Regions from separate parts of the Homo sapiens genome. Here region 1 is linked to region 2. Evidence: promoter capture Hi-C in 16 types of primary human blood cells and fetal thymus (Javierre and others, 2016). All regions are on one chromosome and are shown on one strand. The core of a region is centred on a gene start or on the middle of the fragment in contact, and the rest is flanking DNA. Distances in the headings are between cores, read along the strand shown. Region 1 overlaps ANKHD1-DT (ANKHD1 divergent transcript). Region 2 holds the start of HARS2 (histidyl-tRNA synthetase 2, mitochondrial).

Region 1 (5,293 bases), core at 1,959-4,458, 300 kb before region 2:
AATTGATAGTCCAGAAACAAACCCTCACACTTATGGTCAATTAATTTTTGATAAGGTTGCCAAGACAATTCAATGGTGAAAAAATAGTCTTTTTTCTTTTTCTTTTTCTTTCTTTTTTTTTTTTTTTTTTTGAGATGGGAGTCTCATTCTGTTGCCCAGGCTGGAGTGCAGTAGCATGATCTCGGCTCACTGCAACCTCTGCCTCCCAGGTTCAAGCAATCCTCCCACCTCAGCCTCCCAAGTAGCTGGGACTACAGGCGTGCACCACCACACCGGGCTAATTTTTATATTTTTAGTAGAGTCAGGGTTTCACCATATTGGCCAGGCTAGTCTTGAACTCCTCACCTCAGGTGATCCACCCACCTCAGCCTCCCAAAGTGTGGGATTACAGGCATGAGCCAACGTGCCTGACTGAAAGGATCATCTTTTTGATACATGGTGCTGAGAAAACTAGATATCCACATGCAAAAGAATGAAGCTGAACACCTACTTCACATCGTATGTAAAAATTAACTCAAAATGGATCAATAACCTAAATGTAAGAGCTAAAATATTTCTTAGAAGAAAACATAGGTATAAATCTTTATGACCTTGGATTTGGCAATGGTTTCTTAGATATGATACCAAAAGCACAAGGAACAAAAGAAAAAAAAAAACAAATTGGACATCATCAAAATAAAAAACTTCTGTGCACCAAATGACACTGCCTAGAAAGTGAAAAGACAACCCACAGAATGGGATAAAATATTTGCAAATATAAAACTGATAAGGGACCCAAGATAATTTAAAACTTATGTCCACATAAAGACATACACAAATGTTCATAGCCGCATTATTTATGACAGACAAAAAGTAGAAATAACCCAAAAGAGTCACCAACCCAAACTGATGAATGGATAAGTAAAATGTGTTATATCCATACAGTGAAATATTATTTGGCCATAAAATGGAATGCAGCACCCACACATGCTACAAGAAGAATAAACCTTGAAAAACATCATTCTAAGTGAATGAAGCCAGTTACAAGGATCATATATTATTCCATTTATATGAAATATCCATAATAGGCAAATCTATAAAGTCATAAAGTGAACTAGTGGTTGCCTAGGGCTGGGGGCCTAGGGATAATGGCTATGGGGTGCAGGAATTCTTTTTAGGAGTGAAGAAAATGTTCTAAAATAGATGTGATAAGCACGGCATGGTGGCACACACCTGTAGTTCCTGCTACTCAGGAGGCTGAGGCCAGGAGTTAGAGGCCACAGTGTGCTATGATCTTGTATGTGAACAGCCACTGCACTCCAGCCTGAGCAACATAGCAAGATCTCATCTCTAAAAGTTAAAAAAAAAAAAAAAAGATGTGATGATTGCACAGCTCTGCATATAATAAAAGTTATTGACTTGAACACTTTGAGTGAATTGTGTGATATGTGAGTTATATTTTAAGAAAGCTATTAAGGTGGGGTGCAGTAGCTCATGTCTGTGATCCCAGCACTTTGGGAGGCCAAGGTAGGAGGATTGCTTGAGTCCAGGAGTTTCAGGTTGCAGTGAGTTATGGTTGCACCACTGCACTCCATCCTGGGCAACAGAGCAAGACTCTGTCTCTAAAAAAAAATAGATAAAAAAAATAAAGCTGTTAAAAAATAAAAAGAATGGTAAGGGCCAGAACCTAACAGCAAGGTCAAAATGGGGAGGTTGAAAACCTCTAGGGCCTCCAAGACCAAAGGAATTACCACTTCTGGACAAGAACTGGGGAATTTTTCAGTACCAATTCCAGGAACCTACTAGCTAAGTGAACCCAAGGGAAGAATCATGGCCTTGGGGGGTTTCTCCAGGTTGTTTTCAGAGACATGTTTGTTCACCTTCCATTAATATATCCACTTACAAAGGGGATTATAATGTGCAGTGATGCAAACTAGACCATGTTCCTTCACTAGATCCTCTGCTATTTTCCCTATCTATTTTTGAGACAGTCTTGCTGTGTCAGCCAGGCTGGAGTGCATTGGTGGGATGTCAGCTCACTGCAACCTCTGCTTCTTGGGTTCAAGCGATCCTCCCACCTTAACCTCCCAAGTAGCTGGGACTATAGGCGCCTGCCACCATGCTCATTTAAGTTTTGTATCTTTTGTAGAGATGGAGTTTCACCATGTTGGCCAGGCTGGTCTCAAACTCCTGAGCTCAAGTAATCTGCCCACCTCAGCCTCCCAAAGTGCTGGGATTACAGGTGTGAGCCACTGTGCCCGGCTTCCTCTGCCATTTTCTTTCTTTCTTTTTCTTTTTTTTTGAGACGGGTTTCCACTCTTGTTGCCCAGGCTGGAGGGCAATGATGCAATCTTGGCTCACTGCAACCTCAGCTGCTGGGGTTCAAGCAATTCTCCTGCCTCAGCTTCCCAGGTAGTTGGGATTACAGGTGCACGCCACCATGCCTGGCTAATTTTTGTATTTTTAGTAGAGACGGGGTTTCACCATGTTGACCAGGCTGGTCTCGAACTCCTGACCTCAGGTGAATCTGCCTGCCTCGGCTTCCCAAAGTGCTGGGATTACAAGCATGAGCCACCACAGCTGACCAAAAAAATTTTTTTCAAAACAAAAAAATTTAATGAGAAGAGTGGCATCTTCAATGTCTGGCTTTATAAAAGCTTGATTCTTATATCTGCTTCTGTATTCAGTCAAATCCATGAGTGTTTTGGTTGAAGAATATGAAGAAAATCTGGCTCAACACAGCTATGTAGTTGGAAAAGGAAGAAATACTTCAACAGATTTTTCAGAAAACTGGATATTCCCTTCAATACACCAAAATCCAACAACTGTTAGTTTCTTAAAGGTTGAGACCATAACTATAAAATGTCCATACTCTGTTATATTAAAATCCATTGGTCTATCACATACTTTCATTCTGTGTTGTTGTTTTGAGACAGGGTCTTGCTCAGCTACCCAGGGTGGAGTGCAGTGTCTGCAATCACTGCTCATTTCAGCCTTGACTTCCTGGGCTCAGGCGATCCTCCCACCTCAGACTACAGGCATGTGCCACCACACCCAGCTAATTTTTTATATTTTTAGTAGAGACAGGGTTTTGCCATGTTGCCTAGGCTGATCTTGAACTTCTGAGCTCAAGTGATCCTCCAGCTTTGGCCTCCCAAAGTGCTGGGATTATAGGCATGAGCCACGGTGCCCAGCCCTAATCAAAAAAAATTATTTGTAGAGACAGGGTGTCCCTATGTTGCCCAGGCTGGTCTGGAACTCGTGGGCTCAAGCGATCCTCCTGCCTCAGCCTCCCAAAGTGCTGGGATTACAGGCCTATTATGTACTTTCTTTTTTTTTTTTTTAGATGGAGTCTCGCTCTGTTGCCCAGGCTGGAGTGCAGTGGTGCCATCTCAGCTCACTGTAACCTCTGCCTCCTGGGTTCAAGCGATTCTCATACCTCAGCCTCCCGAGTAGCTGGGACTACAGGTGCTCACCACCATACCCAGCTAATTTTTGTATTGTTAATAGAGACGGGGTTTCACTATGTTGGCCAGTCTGGTCTCGAACTCCTGACCTCAAGTGATCCACCTGCCTTGGCCTCCCAAAATGTTGGGATTACAGGCATGAGCCACCGCGCCTGGCCTAATATACTTTCAGTGGATCTTTTACACATGTATGATTTTGTAACATCATGATTGGTCATTTGGAAAACATTGGTTCACTGAACTGTGCAGATCTTTCAAATATTGACACATTTTTATTATATAATATAAAAAACACATTTATTAATACCATGATTTATCTCATCAAAAAAGTTTTTAAAGCTTTTAGAAAACTGTCAACCAGGAATATATACAATTTTCCAAAATTCTCATTTTTGCTCAAAGGTTTTGAATTTTATCATTGGAAATAAATATTGTCAGGTGTTTTCCTTCAAGTGACAGGCTCCAGAGAATGTCTGCCAAATATCCACATCTGAATTACCAACATTTGCCTGTCAGTGCTATTTTCAAGTAAAAATGGTGTTCTATGAAAACAAAAAAGGCCAATGCAGCTTGCAACCAAAATAGCTATGCTCCTTGAGATAACAAATGTACTTTGATATATAGCAGAAGTGCTCTGTGTATCCTTCTCATTTCCTCACATAGAATATTAAAAACACTTGTACTCAAGGGTCAAGTTTTAATAAAATTAATTTTTACTGCTTCATCAAGGATTCTTAATAAAATCGGCCTTTTCCTGCTTTGAGTGCCCAATGGGGAAGAATACATTTACTGCTAGTACAGTTTGATACCATTACCTAATACTGTGCTGAGGTACCAGCTATCTTTGTTTGTTTTTTAGAAACAGGAGCTCACTCTGTTGCCCAGGCTGGATTGCAGTGGTGAGATCATAGCTCACTGTAGCCTTAAACTCCTGGGCTCAAGCAATCCTCCTGCCTTGGCCTCTTGAGTAGCAGGGACTACAGGCGTGCACCACCACACCCAGCAGTACCAGCAAATTTTTAGCCCCCCCCCCCATTGCTTTTGTACCATCAGTGCAAGTCAATATAGTGAAAAATAATATATTAGAATTATAATGAAAATAGTTTTGACTTCATGGATTCCCCTGAAAAGGTCTTGAGGGCTGCAGGAATCTATAGAGCATACTCTGAGAATTGTGGCAATATGGCCAGGCGCGGTGGCTCCTCCCTGTAATCCCAGCACTTTGGGAGGCAAAGGCGGGTGGATCATCTGAGGTCAGAAGCTCAAGACCAGACTGGCCAACATAGTGAAACCCTGTCTCTACTAAAAATACAAAATTAGCTGGGTGTGGTGGCGGGCTCCTGTAGTCCCAGCTACTTGGGAGGTTGAGGCAGAAGAATTGCTTGAACCTGGGAGATGGAGGTTGCAGTGAGCCAAGATCAAGCCACTGCACTCCAGGCTGGGTGACAGAGCGAGACTCCATCTTAAAATAAAATAAAATAAAAAGCTGGGTGTGGTAGTGCATGCCTGTAATCCCAGCTACTTGAGAAGCTGAGGCACAAGAATCACTTGAACCTGGGAGGCAGAGGTTGCAGTGAGCTGAGACCGTGCCACTGCACTCCAGCCTGGGTGATAAAGTGAGACTCCGTCTAGCCAGGTGGGGGTAAGAATTCACCGGGTGTGGTGGCTCACGCCTGTAATCCCAGCACTTTGGGAAGCCAAGGCAGGTGGATTACTTGAGGTCGCGAGTTCAAGACCAGCCTGGCCAATATGGTGAAACTCCGTCTCTACTACACACACACACACACACACACACACACACACACACACACACACACACACAATTAGCCAGGTGTGGTGGTGCATGC
Region 2 (5,052 bases), core at 2,496-4,995:
CTTAATGTATGCTAAGGCACCAGCAGTTCTACTCACCAGCGCTTTTGTGCCTTCAGTGCAAATGTTAACACAACGAAAAAGGCAGATAATGTCTTAGAATTATTATAGAAGGGCCAGGCGCAGTGGCTCACGCCTGTAATCCCAGCACTTTAGGAGGCCGAGGTGGGAGGATCACTTGAGGCCAGGAATTCAAGACCAGCGCAGCCAACACGGTGAAACCCCATCTGTACTAAAAATACAAAAAATTAGCTAGGTGCGGTGGCACATCCCTGTAGTCCCAGCTACTCGGAAGGCTGAGGCAGGACAATCGCTTGAACCCGGGAGGCGGAGGTTGCAGTGAGCTGAGATCACGCCACTGCACTCCAGCCTGGGCGACAGAGCAAGACTCCGTCTCAAACAAAACAAAACAAAACAAAACAAAACAAAACAAAACAAAAGAATTATTATAGAAATAGTTTTGACCATGAAGATCCCTTGAAAGAGTCTTGTCCCCACAATACTGAGTTTTCTATTGTTAATACTAAAATGGATATTAACTCTCTAGCATAATCTTAACACTATAGTATGGAAATTTTCAAAGACACAATATAGAGAATAGTATTACAGGTCACCATTTATCCATTACCCAGCTTCAACAACCATTAACATCTGCTATTCTTATTTCATTTAAGCCCTGACATGTTTTTCTTACATATTTTTAAATAAATCCCAGACGTCATATCATTTCATCCATAAATACTTCAGTATGAATCTCTAACTCATACGGACATTTAAAAAACCCCAAAGACTCTATCTTTATTATAACTAACAAAACTAACAGCAACTCCTTAATATTATCTAATGCTAAGCCATGGTCAGTTTTCCCCAGTTGCCTCAATAATATCTTTTTATGGTTGATTTATTTGAATCAGCTTCAGAATGAAGTCTATGCGTTGTAATCAGCTGATATGTCTATTTAATCTACAATAGTTTCCTTCCCTCCCCAACTTTTTTTTTTTATTTTAAAAAGGTCATTTATTAACTGAGGAAATTGGGCCATTTGTCCTAAAAAAAAATTTTCACATTCTAGATTTGGTGAACAATATGCTTGATGTGCCATCTAACATGTTCCTCCATCTCTAGTATTTCCTGTAAACTGATAGTTAGTCCAAAGATCTGATTAGATTCAAGTTCAATTTACTTGGCAAGAATACTTCCCAGGTGGTGCTGTGTACTTCTTCTTGCATCACATCAGCAGGAACATAATGTCTAGTTGTCCTACTTTTAGTGATGTTAAAACTGATCACTAGTGAGGACAGACTGATCCATCATAAATTCCACAGTAAGCTTTTCATCTAATAGTTTGAAAAATCATTGATGATCACCACTTTGGGATTTTACACTGTCTCTTTAACCTTCAAAAATTAGTTATATGTAGAAAGAAACAGCTCAATGAATTTAGGATCCCAAAGAATTAACCTTAACACAAGGAAAACAGACCATCTCCCCTCTCCTTTGGAATTCAATTTCAAATACATGTATTAAATAGAATCATCCCTCAGTATCCACAGGAGATTTGTTCTGGGCCCCATGTGAATACCAAAAATCCATGGATGCTCAAGCCCTTGACATAAAATTATATGCACATCCTCCTATATACTTTAAATAGTCTCTAGAGTGTTTATAATGCCTTAGACAATGTAAAGGCTATGTAAATAGTTGCTATACTATATTTTTTATTTGAAATTTTTATTGTTAGATTTCAAAAGGTTTTTATTTGTTTGTTTGTTTTTAGAGATAGGGACTCACTATGTTGCTCAGGCTGGTCTCAAGCTCCTGGGCTCAAATGATCCTCCCCTTGTGGCCTCCCAAAGTGCTGGGATTACAGGTGTAAGCCACCACACTCAGCCAGATTTTTTTTCTTAATCGTTTCTTTTCCCCTGAATGGTTTTGATCCACAGTTGGTTGAATCTGTGAATGTGGGACCTTGGGATATGGAGGGCTGACTATACCTATTTAGGCATCTAGTCTCAGTCTCAGGGTAAATAAACGACATAAATAACTACTTAAAGTTGGTGTAATAACAAATATGTATGAAGTGCCAAGAGCACCTAGATGAAGGGGTAAACAGTTCTGTTTATAGAACTTACAGAAAGTGGAACTGAACTGGAGGATGAGCTCAGAATCTCCAACCTCATTCCACTCTACTCTCCTTAACTTAGTTCTAGCCATGTAGATCATCCTCTAGTTCCTCAAAACTACCAAAGTTCTTTCCCACTTTAGGGTTTCCATACTCTACCTGGACCTATCTTTGTCACACTTGTCCTCTGGCTATCTCCTACTCATTCATTAGATCAGTTAGTATATCACTTCCTCAGTTAGCCTTTCTCAGACTCCCCAGTTCTCCCTTATTTTTCTCAGAGCAACCTTAATTTCTTTATATCATTTTTCACAATATGTAATTACATAACCACATGTGGTGGCCGGGTGCGGTGGCACACGTCTGTAATCCCAGCACTTTGGGAGACTGAGGCGGGCAGATCACTTGAGGTCAGAAGTTCAAGACCATCCTGGCCAATATGGTGAAACCCCGTCTCTACTAAAAATACAAAAATTAGCTGGGCATGGTGGTGGGCACCTGTAGTCCCAGCTACTCAGGAGGCTGAAGCAGGAGAATCGCTTGAACCCAGGAGGCAGCGGCTGCAGTGAGCCAAGATGTGCCACTGCACTCCAGCCTGTGCAACAGAGGATACTCTGTTTAAAAAAAAAACAAAAAAATCTGTGTGGGATTATTTGTTCTAAGTCTCTCTCCTTCAGTAGAATGTAAGCTCCATGAGGGTAGGCTATATTGTCCACCATGGTATATATTCAGTGCTTTGTATAGTGCTAGAGACATAGCGCTAAATACACATTTATTGAATGAACGAAGGAGTAGCAGCAGCAGGCTGACTCCCCTGATCACCCAGCTGGCCTAGTTTCTGCCATCACTTTGCCATCCCAGAATGACTCAGGTAGAGTCCAGTCCAGCCCAGCGCCCAGAGCGACTGTCCTCTCCTCTGCAGCATTTCAGATCCTCCTCAATGACCTGGTTTAGGGAGGCAGACATAAGCGCCCCGTGAGTAGAGTTAGAGACTTTCTCAGTGGCTCCCTACAGGAATGATATTACCTTGGGGGTTTTGAGCACAAATTTCTGTTTGCTTTCATCAGGACCCAGCTGTGCCTTCAGTTTCAGGAGTTTCGCCACCTCCTCCTCGATCTGTGGAGGGAAAGAAGGCGCTGAGCTATCCATCTGTCACTCTCCTCCCTCCCCCGCCATTCATTCAATATTCCTCCCTCATCACATCTCTCTGCTCAGGCCTAGCTTTGTTTCTCTCGGGACCCACCCCGGATGTCTCCCCACGCAGCCCACTCTCCTCCCTACAAGACTGGTCGCTTCCCTCACATCTCTACCCTATGTCCCGAACACCCTGGCTTTACGTCCTCCCAGGCTTTGCCTTGGCCCTCTCCCCTGCTGCCTAAATCTCACCAGCTCGGCGCTGGCCTTCTGCTGCTTGAGGCCTCGCACGCGCTCTCCCTGAAGTTTCACCAGCTCCTCCAGCGCCGCACGCTCTGCCATCCCGGCTGTCCACTTGAGCCGCCTGCTGTCTCGACCTGCGGTGGTTGCCCCAGCCTCAGCAAGGATGACTTCCGGCTATCGAGTCGCTGGGTCGCACGCCTAGAGAGCCTCCGCCGAGCACAAAAATTATTTCCGGCTCCTCCCGGAAGTGCCGAAGCTGGCTACTAAGGGAACTTGGGAGGATCCCACCTCAGCCTTCGTGACTAGTGAGGTGCGCAAACGCCCGAGTTTTCCCTGGTGCGCGGGTTCCGCCTTTGCAGTGCCCTCCACCCTTCCTGGTGTCTGACCCGCCTCCTTCCCAGGCCTTTTGTTCCTGTCCCGGAAAGCCGGCGTCCTGCCGCGCGATGCCCCTGCTCGGACTTCTTCCCAGGAGGGCCTGGGCTTCGCTGCTCAGCCAGCTCCTGCGACCGCCCTGCGCTTCGTGCACCGGGGCGGTCCGTTGCCAAAGCCAGGTGAGCGAGACAGAATTATCTCTGGTCTGTCCCAGCAGGGTCTCCAGATCTGAACGCATAGCCTCGCGGCCTGTATTCCAGTAGTGTTACAATCGGTTTTTATCGAGTGCCCACTATGTACTGACACTGAACTAAGCGATTTGGATGCCTGGTCATTTAATCCTTGGAGCAATCTTGAGAGGTTGGAGTTTTGATTTCCATTCTGCAGTTGAGGAAACGGAGGCTGCAAGATTAAATGAATGACTTATACACGGATATGTAGTAAGGGAGTATTTTAATTCATATCCACACTTTTTCCTGAAACTCTTGGACTCAAACAGTAACATTTTTAAGCGAAATATATGAATATTCCTAGTAAATGAGATGACTAAAGATCAGAAGTAGACTGAGTTCATCTTAGAATTTACCTCAAAATGAATCTCAGAAAAACATTTTCAGATGTCAGAGAGTTTTGGATTTTGGAATTGCAGATAAGGGATTGTGTACTTGAACTTGGACTTCTCTTAGGGCAGATAATCGCCATAGTATGGAACCACCACATCCTCTATTTTTGGAAGGGCATACAGCGTGCTGGTAATGTCACTGATTAAGTTTTGCCTTACTTCGGAAAGATTCTAATGCTCTCTTAGCAGATGCTTTGTGCTATCGTGAACAATAGGGCACAGATCTTTTATTGATATTCAATCACAGCATCTTATCAGTCTGAGTTTTTTAGCTCATTCAAGAAATCCATATCTTATCATTCCACAGGCTTGTTCTGTGTCCTTGAGCTGGTTCCCTTGTCTTCAAGTTACAGTTTTCCTCTCTCTAAACCTGATAACCAGTGCTACCTTATTAAAAATTATTATTTTTTTGTCCGGGCACAGTGGCTCATGCCTGTAATCCCATCACTTTGGGAGGCCAAGGGGGGTGGATCACCTGAGGTCAGGAGTTTGAGACCAGCCTGACCTGTATGGCGAAACCCCGTATCTACTAAAAATACAAAAATTAGCCGGGCGTGGTGGC

What was found. The method cuts DNA at HindIII sites, captures the fragments that hold promoters and counts their contacts. A CHiCAGO score of 5 or more calls a contact.
Region 1: a fragment that was not itself captured here is called in contact with the fragment with the promoter of HARS2 in region 2 in 11 of 17 cell types (naive CD4 T cells, endothelial precursors, non-activated CD4 T cells and 8 more); the score reaches 8.7 in naive CD4 T cells.

What each region holds. Positions count from the first base shown.
Region 1 is chr5:140,383,907-140,389,199 of GRCh38, forward strand. All of the region lies in intron 1 of ANKHD1-DT (ANKHD1 divergent transcript), which reads right to left. LOC124901087 (a long non-coding RNA gene) reads left to right here. Exons shown (of 2, transcript XR_007058967.1): 2 at 2,667-2,883. Among named protein-coding and RNA genes, the nearest start is that of ANKHD1-DT, 15 kb to the right of the region's middle. The HindIII fragment of the contact is 1,149 bases long and covers 2,635-3,783 here.
Region 2 is chr5:140,687,710-140,692,761 of GRCh38, forward strand. It overlaps HARS2 (histidyl-tRNA synthetase 2, mitochondrial), which reads left to right and starts at 3,746. Exons shown (of 13, transcript NM_012208.4): 1 at 3,746-4,047. The coding sequence starts at 3,940. It overlaps HARS1 (histidyl-tRNA synthetase 1), which reads right to left and starts at 3,661. Exons shown (of 13, transcript NM_002109.6): 1 at 3,506-3,661; 2 at 3,146-3,235. The coding sequence starts at 3,595. RefSeq lists enhancers at 3,368-3,597, 3,758-3,847, 3,928-3,997 and promoters at 3,596-4,046, 3,596-3,717, 3,689-3,715, 3,780-4,096. The HindIII fragment of the contact is 4,332 bases long and covers 1,325-5,052 here.